Linked DNA regions of Homo sapiens: region 1 is linked to region 2. Evidence: promoter capture Hi-C in 16 types of primary human blood cells and fetal thymus (Javierre and others, 2016). All regions are on one chromosome and are shown on one strand. The core of a region is centred on a gene start or on the middle of the fragment in contact, and the rest is flanking DNA. Distances in the headings are between cores, read along the strand shown.

Evidence for each region. The method cuts DNA at HindIII sites, captures the fragments that hold promoters and counts their contacts. A CHiCAGO score of 5 or more calls a contact.
Region 1: a fragment that was not itself captured here is called in contact with the fragment with the promoter of UPK1B in region 2 in 2 of 17 cell types (naive CD4 T cells and naive CD8 T cells); the score reaches 5.7 in naive CD4 T cells.

Annotation. Positions count from the first base shown.
Region 1 is chr3:118,870,968-118,875,927 of GRCh38, reverse strand. No RefSeq gene overlaps it. Among named protein-coding and RNA genes, the nearest start is that of IGSF11-AS1, 70 kb to the left of the region's middle. The HindIII fragment of the contact is 882 bases long and covers 950-1,831 here.
Region 2 is chr3:119,172,292-119,177,582 of GRCh38, reverse strand. It overlaps UPK1B (uroplakin 1B), which reads right to left and starts at 3,985. Exons shown (of 8, transcript NM_006952.4): 1 at 3,945-3,985. The HindIII fragment of the contact is 9,656 bases long and covers 1-5,291 here.

The sequences.
Region 1 (4,960 bases), core at 141-2,640, 300 kb after region 2:
ATATGACAGTGCCAGGAGATCTAGGCCCCATTTAGGATATTTTTTGGAGAATGTCTTATACGGCATTTAACATAAGTGTGTTGTGACCTAATCCAGAGCTCTTTTACAGGAAATTCTCAGGCAATTAATTTCATTGTCCATGACTATAGTTGGTTCATTTTCTCCCTTTCAGCACTCTAAGAATTATGGCGATTTCTTATCAAAGAAATAGTTAATTTGAAATTTTACTTGGAAACAGCACACAACGAACATAAATTTCATATAGAGGCCCAAATGTCTTGTGTGGCCAACTGTGATGTTTTTTACCTTGTCCATGTAGCTGACGCCTTGGCAAATATTTCCTGGGCCTCCGTGAGGGGCATCATCTAAGTCATCTGGAATCTATTCTTTTCTCCAACTCTACTGCCAAAAGCACATCTTTAGATCTTTAGTTGTTGTTTGGGATTCTGGGTAATATAGAAACCCACTGCTTACATCACATGGCTTTCTATTTAGGACTTAAAAGAGAAAGGAACTGCAGTTCATTTTCTCTGTGTTACACTATTTTTGATTCTCTTTGTTTTTCACCAGCTATTTTCTTCCACTCATGTGCACAGTATTTCTTTTATGAACCAGCTGCCCTGCTCATTTTAAATTGAGATTGTTTTACCCAATTATTCACCTTCTGCCTCTCTTTACAATGCTTCCTACATTGTAGCCACATTGCATTATTAAACATTTTCATGATAAGCAATTCAGAGCAGTATTCAAAATTAAAAACATTCATCCTGAGCCAAATAGGAGCTCTAGTTTATTGGAACGTGCTTTAACAATAATCTGATGTTTCTCAGAAGGTTATCAAATTCCAGTCTGAGTTTCTGGATGGTAGATCTCTTTTTAGGATCCCAGCACCTAGTTAACCTCTTCTAATTTGCCATTGGTTCTTAGCAATTTGGTTCATGCTAAAGCTTCTTTGATTTCAACAGCTGATTTTTTATTAGAAAGTTTTCCCTAACTTCTGTCTCTCTCCACACCTCTTTGAGAAATAGGAGCAAGTTTGCTTCCTACCTCATCCATTAATTCTAGGTGAACTACATTGTACTATTGTATTAATTAAAGTGGGCATTTATAATAATGCACCAAACTTAGCATTGTGTAAGTGAACAGGAAATTCTCACTATTGTTGGAAAAATTTAAAAAATATTACCCTTTGAGACACTCTCTAGGATAATCTCAAATCCTTCATTATGTGCTTCTTAAGTAAATGGCATTGCCTTAAAAGAGCTGTATTTCTTGTCTGTCCAAGTCTACCTTTTAAGTGACAAAATTGCAACAATGGTAAATGCATTGCTTCCCGTGTCCTCCAAGACTTCACAGCTCATATCTCAATACTTCAGTCTCTCAAGTGCAAAATGAGGATAATAGTTTACAGCATTTAAGATGTGAAGCACTTAGAACAGTCACTGAAACATTATTCAATGCACACTAGCCACTATCACTATTATTTGAAATGTCTCATTGTTATAAATACATATTTTAAAATGTGTGCAAAGTCAACATTGTATTTAAGACTATTGCATTCCCCCAGTGCCACAGTACCACTAATTGAATTTGTGATTTAGGTCTCTCCAGGCAGAATTCAAGGCTGTGGCTCGGCTTTAATACCATCTAGATATTGGATTCCTGACCTGACTTGTTGAGTCTTACCTATCCTGTATTCTTTTTCAATTGTCTCTGCCTACCAATTGAGATAGCCTCCGATTTTACCTGTGCTCCTCCTCCTCTTTCTCTCTCAGCCACTGGTGAGTATTTACATGAGCTAAGATTTAGGAGTGCTGTAGATCAGGAAGCTTTGTTGGCATTAGTGGCTGATTCAGTTTCCCCAGTGCCTGTCCCCTGTGGCTGTGCTGAGTGCTCTCCTGGACCCTCCTCTCTGGTCACATCCTGTTCTAAGTAATGGTCCATTCAGATGTGATCTTAGTCTCATCGTTTTAGTCCATTTGTGCTGCTAATAACAAAATACGACAGACTGGGTAATTTATAAACAATAGAAATTTATTTCTTACAGTTCTGGAGGCTGGGCAGTTCAAGATAAAGGCACCAGCATTCAGTGTCTGGTGAGGGCCTTCTTGCTGTGTCCTCACATATTTGCAGGGCCAAAAAGGCAAAAAGACCCTAAGCCACTTCCCTCCAGATCTTCTATAAGGCACTAATCTGTTTATGAGAGGAGAGCCGGAATGACTAATCATCTTCCTAAAGTCCCCACCTCATAACAACACCACCATGGGGATTAAGTTTCAACATATGAATTCTGAAAAACATTCAGACAATAGCACTTAACATTTAAAAGTTGCTTAATTTCAAGGCCAAAAATTAATCTTATGTTTCAGAATATTATTCAAAAATCCCTCACAAGCAGTTTAACCTCAATGTGATATGGAAGACCAGTGGTCATTACAAAGTATGTTGTTAGAAGTCTTTACTATTTCCCAGATGACTGGAAATATGGCCTTACACTAGAGTGACCCTATTACCAGCTCACTCAGGTTAGTCTCAGTTTATATTTGTAGCCTAGGAATTATTAATAGTGTCCCTCAATTACTCTCAGAGTGTCTTAATTTGGGCAATAAGTTTATAAGGTCACCACAGCTTGAAATGATGTCTAGTAGTCATCCTCCAAATTATTTTATGTCAGGAGTTCACAATCTAACATCAGTTTTCCGTAGATCTTCACATTCACATTACAGCTTTGTTGACTCTTTCAACATCTCTATTTTAATAGCTCTGAGACAAAACTTCAGGAAAGTTATGTTGCTTATCTTAGAAACCTAACTTTCATGGTGAAAGGATATGATGAAAATAGGAATCTCCACCACAGAAGAATAGAAAAATCTCTTCCTAGGAGATATCTTTTCCTGAAGCTTTTTTTGATTGCCCAAGACAGGAAAATAAATCTTCTGTGATTATATAAGATAATGTATACTTATCATAGGATATACATATCATATTCAAATTAATTTTGTCCTGTGACTATGCTCCTTGAAGATGGGAACCATTTTGTAATTATTTGCTTCTTGAAGGTGGTAACTATTTCATAATTATTTGTGTTTTTCCAGGCCTCACACATGGCACATAGTAGATGCTGAAAAAAGTTTGTGAATCTGAATATTGGAACTCAATTGAACTCAAGACTATTTTTATCAACACTTCTAGTGATCAAAGTTGATTAGTATATACTAGAAGTTGCTGATTATAAAACAAATTAATCTGATGTGTTATTGGTCATGCAGGCCACCCACCCAGTCTATCCTTCTATCTACTATGTGTGAAACATTCTCTTCCTTCCACTTTATGTGGAGATAGGTGAAACATTTCCTCTTTTCATTCTCTCAGTAAGTCTGATGACTCCCTATGTTCCTGATCATCTGATCCCAAGGAAACACGCTATTAGTCAATTCTCACACTGTTTTAAAGAAATACCTGAGACTGGGTAATTTATGAAGAAAGGAGGTTTAATTGACTCACAGTTCCACAGGCTGTATAGAAAGCATGACTGGGAGGTTTCAGGAAACTTACAATCATGGTGGAAGATGAAGGGGAAGCAAGGCACATCTTCCTATGGCAGAGCAGGAGAGAAAGGGGGGAAGTGTCATACTTTTAAACCATCAGATCTCATGAGAACTCACCCACTATCATGAGAACAACAAGGAGGAAATCCAGCCCCATGATCCAATCACCTCCCAGCAGGCCCCTCCCCCAACACTGGGGATTCTAATTTGACATGAGATTTGGGTGGGAACACAGAGCTAACCCATATCGTTCTGCCCTTGATCCCCACCCCCAAATCTCATGTCCTTCTCACATTTCAAAACCAATTATGCTTCCCAATAGTCCCACAAAGTCTTAACTCATTCCAGCATTAACCCAAAATTCAGGTCCAAAGTCTCACCTGAGATAAGCCAAGTCCCTTATGCCTATGAGCCTGAAAATCAAAAACAATTTAGTTGCTTCCAGGATACAATGGAAGTACAGGGATTTGGTAAATGCTCTCATTCCAAATGGGAGAAATTGGCCAAAACAAAGGGGCTACAGGCCCCATGCAAGTCCAAAACACAGAAGGACAGTCATTAAACCTTAAAGCTCCGAAATAATCTCCTTTGACTTCATGTCTTATATCCAGGGCACACTAATGCAAGGGGTGGGCTCCCAAGGACTTGGGCAGCTCTACCTCCGTGGCTCTGAAAGGTATAGCCCCCTTGGTTGCTTTCATTAGCTGGCATTGAGTGCCTGTGGCTTCAACGCTGGATCTACTATTCTGGGGTCTATAGGATGGTGGCTCTCTTCTCACAGCTCCACTAGGCAGTGCCCCAGTGGGGTCTCTGTGTGGGGTCTCCAACCTCACATTTCTTCTCTGCACTGTCCTAGTAGAGGTTCTCCATGAGGGCTCTGCCTCTGCAGCAGACTTCTGCCTGGACGTCCAGGCATTTCCATACATCCTCTGAAATCTAGGCGATGGCTTCCAAGCCTCAACTCTTGTCTTTTGTGCACCCACAGGCCCAACACCTTTTGGAGGCCACCGAGGCTTGGGGTTTGCACCCTCTGAAGTAATGGCTCTAGCTGTACCTCAGCTCCTTTTAGTCGTGGCTGGAGCTGGAGTGGCTGGGACTCAGAGCACCATGTCCTGAAGCTCACAGAGCAGTGGGGCCCTGGGCCTGGCCTGGAAAGCCATTTTTCCCTCCTAGGCCTCCAGGTCTGTGATGGGAGGGGCTATCACAAAGGTCTCTGAAATGACCTGGAGGCATTTTTCCCATTGTCTTCGCTATTAACATTTGGCTTCTCTTTATTTATGCAACTTTCTGCAGCCTTAAATTTCTCTCCAGAAAATGGATTTTTCTTTCCTACCACATAGTCAGGCTGCACATTTTTTCAACTTTTATGCTCTGCTTCCCTTTTAAATATAAGTTTCACTTCCAGACCATCT
Region 2 (5,291 bases), core at 2,736-5,235:
AAAGTGTCATTCATCCTAGGACAGTTATTGGCCAGGTGCCTGTTCACGGCATGATACATCAGTTCTGGCTGCAAACTTGGAGGCTTTGTACAGGTGAGAAATTTAAGGCTCACAGAGAGAAAGTGACTTGTTCACGATCATGATGTGTTATTAAAAGAGTTAAGATTCAAGTCCAGGTTTCCTAACTCTTAACCCAGCCTTCTATGGGGTTTGTCACTAATGATTATTCTTTTTAAGGTAGGGAGATCCACTTCCCTTTACGTCTTTTTAAATTAAGAGAAACTCTTGACCTCCCACCTGTGAGCCTACCCATGAGACTCACTACAAGATAAGCCAGAAAGGGAGCCACATAAACAAAGCTGGCAGGGAGAAAGCCTTCTATCCTTTTCCTTCATTCAAAGGCTTCCTCACCGTTTACCCTAACTTCTGAATGCCACAATTTGAGACTCACTCCTTCATTCCTGATTAAAATGCAAGCTCATATAAAAGAGGCACATTGAGTTTCATGAGCCATCCATGTCAATGCCTCATTTATCAGCTCCCTTCTCTTATTTAATTTTCAAAGGGCGAGGGAAGACACCATGAGAAGGAAAGAGACCCAAGGAGAGGGTAGAACCTAAAAAGACAAACCTCGTAACTTATGATTTGGGGGTTTGGGTCTGTCTCTCTGGCTATACTGACTTCTAATGATATGATGTGTCCTCTTTCCTGCCTTCTCTTTTAGCCCACAGTATGTAGAAACTGTTTTAGATATGTGGTCTTCTGAACCCTCCCCACGTTATTCTAAAACAATGCCTCCCTGACTATATTGGATTACTTATCTGGCAGGGGTGGGAAGGAAACCAATGGGATGAGTTACATTTAACAAGTGGAAAGCGGTGGAAGGCAGAGGGCAGAGCAGCAACTGCCCGCGTTAGAGATGGAACGCCCCAGACTGAAAGTACGCAACTCACCTCGAAATATTTTCCATGTAAAGGAATAGCCCCTGTGCACCCCGCCCTGTGGGAAAACTGCCCTGTGGCCTGGTATGATGATGATTTACTCAAATTGCTCAATACCCTGGGAGTTCCTTTGCTTTAAAGAGTGCAGATTTTTTTAAAGCTAGAATTATATTTCTTGTTTTTTCTTTATTGTGCTTTCACTCAGTTTGTTTTCCTATAAAAATTAATCATACCCGTAGTGTTGATGTTTCCAGACACATTGAAAGGTCTAAAAACAATTGCTCACTAAACAAACCAATTTGCAAAGCAGAAGAAAAAGAAGTGAGACTCGCCCAGTAAGCATGAGATCATTTTTTCAAGTTCATTACCTCTTTTCCTCACCCAAGTTTGTTGTACCAGAGAACACACAAACCACACCTCAAACTTTAGTTCATGCTAGAGAAATTTGAATTAACAAAGGAGAAAAAAAGAAAAGGAAAAATAGGAGAGGAAGAAACAAAGAAACACAATATGCGATTGCCTTAGCCCTCACCCTGAAACTCAGCACAAGAACAGACACTTCCTTGGCTCAGAGTAAAGATGGGTGTGGAGATTGTAGGTCACAACAATTGCTGGTCTGCTTCAACTTAAGGTAGGATAAGTCCCTGGAAATAACAAAAAGAGGAGGTTTCTCCCAGGGCTGTCACCCATGGCTCACAGTGCCCATAAGTTTTTCTTGCTTTAAAGCTCTAAACCTGTGTTGACTAATACAGTAGTTAGTAGTTGCATGCAGTTATTTAAAGTCAAAAGAATTCAATTAAATAAAAGTAAAAATCAGTTCCTCAGTTGCTCCAACCACATCTCAAGCACTCCCTAGATACATGTGGTTAGTGTCTATTATCTAGAACATTTCCCTCATCACAGAAAGTTTTACTGGACAGCACTGCTCTTGATTCCTGGTGCTCCCAGTATGATGGGAGTCATCCACCCATTGGAAATCAGGGACTAGCTGTAAGCAATGGCTCAGGAGCACTCAGTTGCACGAGGGCCTCAGGTGTGGGCATTGCCAGAGAGATGCCCAGCTCCAGGGCAGGAGTACTATGGAGAGTCCTTGGGGCGGGGGGGAGGGGGTGGGCAGGCGGGTAGGGCGGTGTGTGATGATGGTGCCCCCTCACCAATGTGGTCTCTGTCCCAGTTGGTGAATGGTGGCCCATCAAGTTTGTGGGCAGCCTGCATGGCTATCAGGCACAAATTCCAGAGCATATTTAAAGGCTGGCTGGTGTTTACTCTGGTTAAGATTGTAAGCAGGAGAAGTCAAAAAGAAGTTCTGAGTTTTGGCCGGGTGCGGTGGCTCAAGCCTGTAATCTCAGCACTTTGGGAGGCTGAGGTGGATGGATCACGAGGTCAGGAGATTGAGACCATCTTGGCTAACACGGTGAAACCCCGTCTCTACTAAAAATACAAAAAATTGGCCGGGCGTGGTGGCAGACACCTGTAGTCCCAGCTACTCGGGAGGCTGAGGCAGGAGAATGGCATCTACCCGGGAGGCAGAGCTTGCAGTGAGCAGAGATCACGCCACTGCACTCCAGCCTGGGCCTCAGAGTGACTCCGTCTCAAAAAAAAAAAAAAAAAAAAAAAAAAAAAAAAAAAGAAAATAAAAGAAAAAAAAAGTTCTGAGTTTCTTTTTTTTCCCCTTGATTAAATGATGTCTAAGGTCCCCTTTGGATGTAAAAGTCTATGATTCTTCCCAGCAGTTAAAAAAAAAAAAAATAGGTGAGTTGATTTTAAAGACTATTTTATAGCAGAAAGCAAAACAATCTGTTGGAGCAGAAAGCAAAGTAAGAAATTTTTCTCCTCACTGAGAAGGTTAATAAAAAGAAAATCCACTTCTTCATAGGGTCTGAAAACTATGTAACCTAAATTTTGTTTATACTCAAAGTATGTATATCTATAAAACCTAATGAGTTCTTTCCTGTTGTGCTTAGCAACTCAGGCAAGAAATGTTCAAGAAACGTTGTCTTTCATTAAAAGAAGACATTCAAGTTAACAAAACTTCTTTAAAAATTTATTTTTATTTTTTTTAGAGACAGGATCTCACTATGTTGCCCAGCCTGGACTAGAACTCCTGATCACGTGGCCTCAGCTTCCCGAATAGCTGGAACTGCAGGCATGTGCCACTGTGACTGGCTACGAATTCTTAAATGGCTTAAAAATCTTTAAAACTAGTTAGAAGTGGAGTTTTAGGTTTATAAACAAATGCAAACATAAAATAATACTAGCATTATTTGAAACTTAAATTTGTATTTTGTGTGAAAATGTGATCAGAATGAAAAATATCTTTATGTCCTGCAGATCATGGTGGAGCAAAGAATTGGTAAGGAGTAAAAACAAATTATGTAAAAATAACATTGCGTAGATAAAGCTACTTTGTTGACTTACTTCAACTGACACATTTATTAAGCAGAAGTGTTTGCAGAGAATAACTGGGAGTAAATTGCTTCACACATTTCATTACAGGTTGGCAGGACCAAATGATTTCTGACAAGAAGACCAAGAAACTTTCTCTCTGCTAGCCTGAACAGATTATTAAGAAATAACACGAGCTATTTCGTTAAACTTTCTATTGCTTTTCTGACTCCACAAGGAAATTGGGGGTCTACAAAGGTGACTGTCTATGTGCGATTTAATCAGGAGATATAGGGTTTCTCGGGGTGCTTGGATTTTCTTGTTCTTTCTGTGGGGATATCTGAGGTTGAAAGCAGGATGGCTGCGTAATATCTCCAGAAGTTTAATGAGAACAAGACTTATATCAAGGGTATTAAGAAAGCAATTCCAACGGTTCAAAGTAAAAGAGAACAGGACAGTCACAATACCCTAAATTACAAAGAAAAAAATGACAGACTTTATGAATCAAGAATCTAACTTCTTCCCCTTTCCCTCCCAGTCTGCTAGCTTCCCTCCCAGGAGAGCAACCCAGCCCTTGAGCCCGGGAGATTCCCTGCAGAGGGAAAGCGGTCTACTCACAGCGCCTCCTCTTTCTGCGCACACGGTAGGGCCCGCTCCGCAGTCTGCACCCGACCCAGGTGCTTTTCTACCCTCCTGCAATTCTTTGAACCTCCAGGACCAGGGAAGGGTAGTCTGTGATTGGCAGGAGGCACCTCACATGGGCTGAGCTTTCCGCTGCCTGCCCTGCCTCGCTGAGGCGGGGGAGTAACCGGAGGCTGTCAGTTGATTTCTGCTGCTTTGGAATGTGTGACTCTGACAGATGGAAGCACCTTGACAGCCACACTCATCGCTTTCCTGGATCCCTCCTAGGTTTGGGCTTTACTGGAATACAAACTCAGGGATTTTATTTTGATTTGATTTGATTTGATTTGTGTAATTTGATCCTTACTCCTGCTTTTGTGTGTTGAAGGCTTGTTAGTCCTGACCGCTCACAGCGATGCTGATATGTGCTTACCTGTGTAGGGCCATGTCCAGTTTTAGTTTCTATAATTTGCATATGCCAAATTCAGAGAGACAGTAATTGCCCAAGTAATGCTCATACTGTAGGTGGCCCAAAGACTGATAAGGAGCAAGAGATGTGGAAAGAAACAGATTGGGAAAAATTCACGGAGAGAGAGGGCTCAAGTGATTATCTGATGTCCAATTCTTCCCTCCCCTCTTCTTCCCTCCCTTTCTCTTCTCTTCCCTTCCCTTCTTTTTTCCTTCTTCCCTGACTTCTGGAGCCATCATGTGTTATACATGGCACCCAGAACATTATTTTAATGGCTGCATAACCTATCATGGTATACATGCGCCATCGCTTGTTTAACCTGAGTTAGGAATCGGTAACTGCAGTAATGTTAGAATTTACTGAGTGCTTTTACCAATAGACTTGGGAGTTCCTCAAAGGTCAGCATCATCTCTGTTGCAGGTTAGGTTGTTCAGGAGCAGACTTTGAGACAAAATTTAGTGTGCAATATATTTATTAGACAGTGCCCTGAGATTAACACCCATGGCAGGGAGAGGGGAGAAACAGGACTGGGCAGAGGAAGAAGTTGAGCTGCAATATAGATGGGACAGTCTTAAGCAGCCCTCCTCAGGAAACTCTGGAGGAAGATGGCCTGTCAGAGTAGCTCTGACACTGGGCTCCTCTATGATCTGCCCTTCAATGTGGATTACCCTGGGAAGGCAGCTTTCTGTAGCTGAGGCAAGTCCTGAAAGGGGCTGATAACTGGAGGCTGGAGGTTGCAAGTACTCCCAGCAGCAGGGCAACCTCCCACTTCAAGGGGGACTGCATGGAGCACCTCTGTGTCCATCACAAGGCCTTATTCCTCTGCAGCTCTTCAGGGCCTTGTTAGATAAATTATCATATTTCACACAATAGAA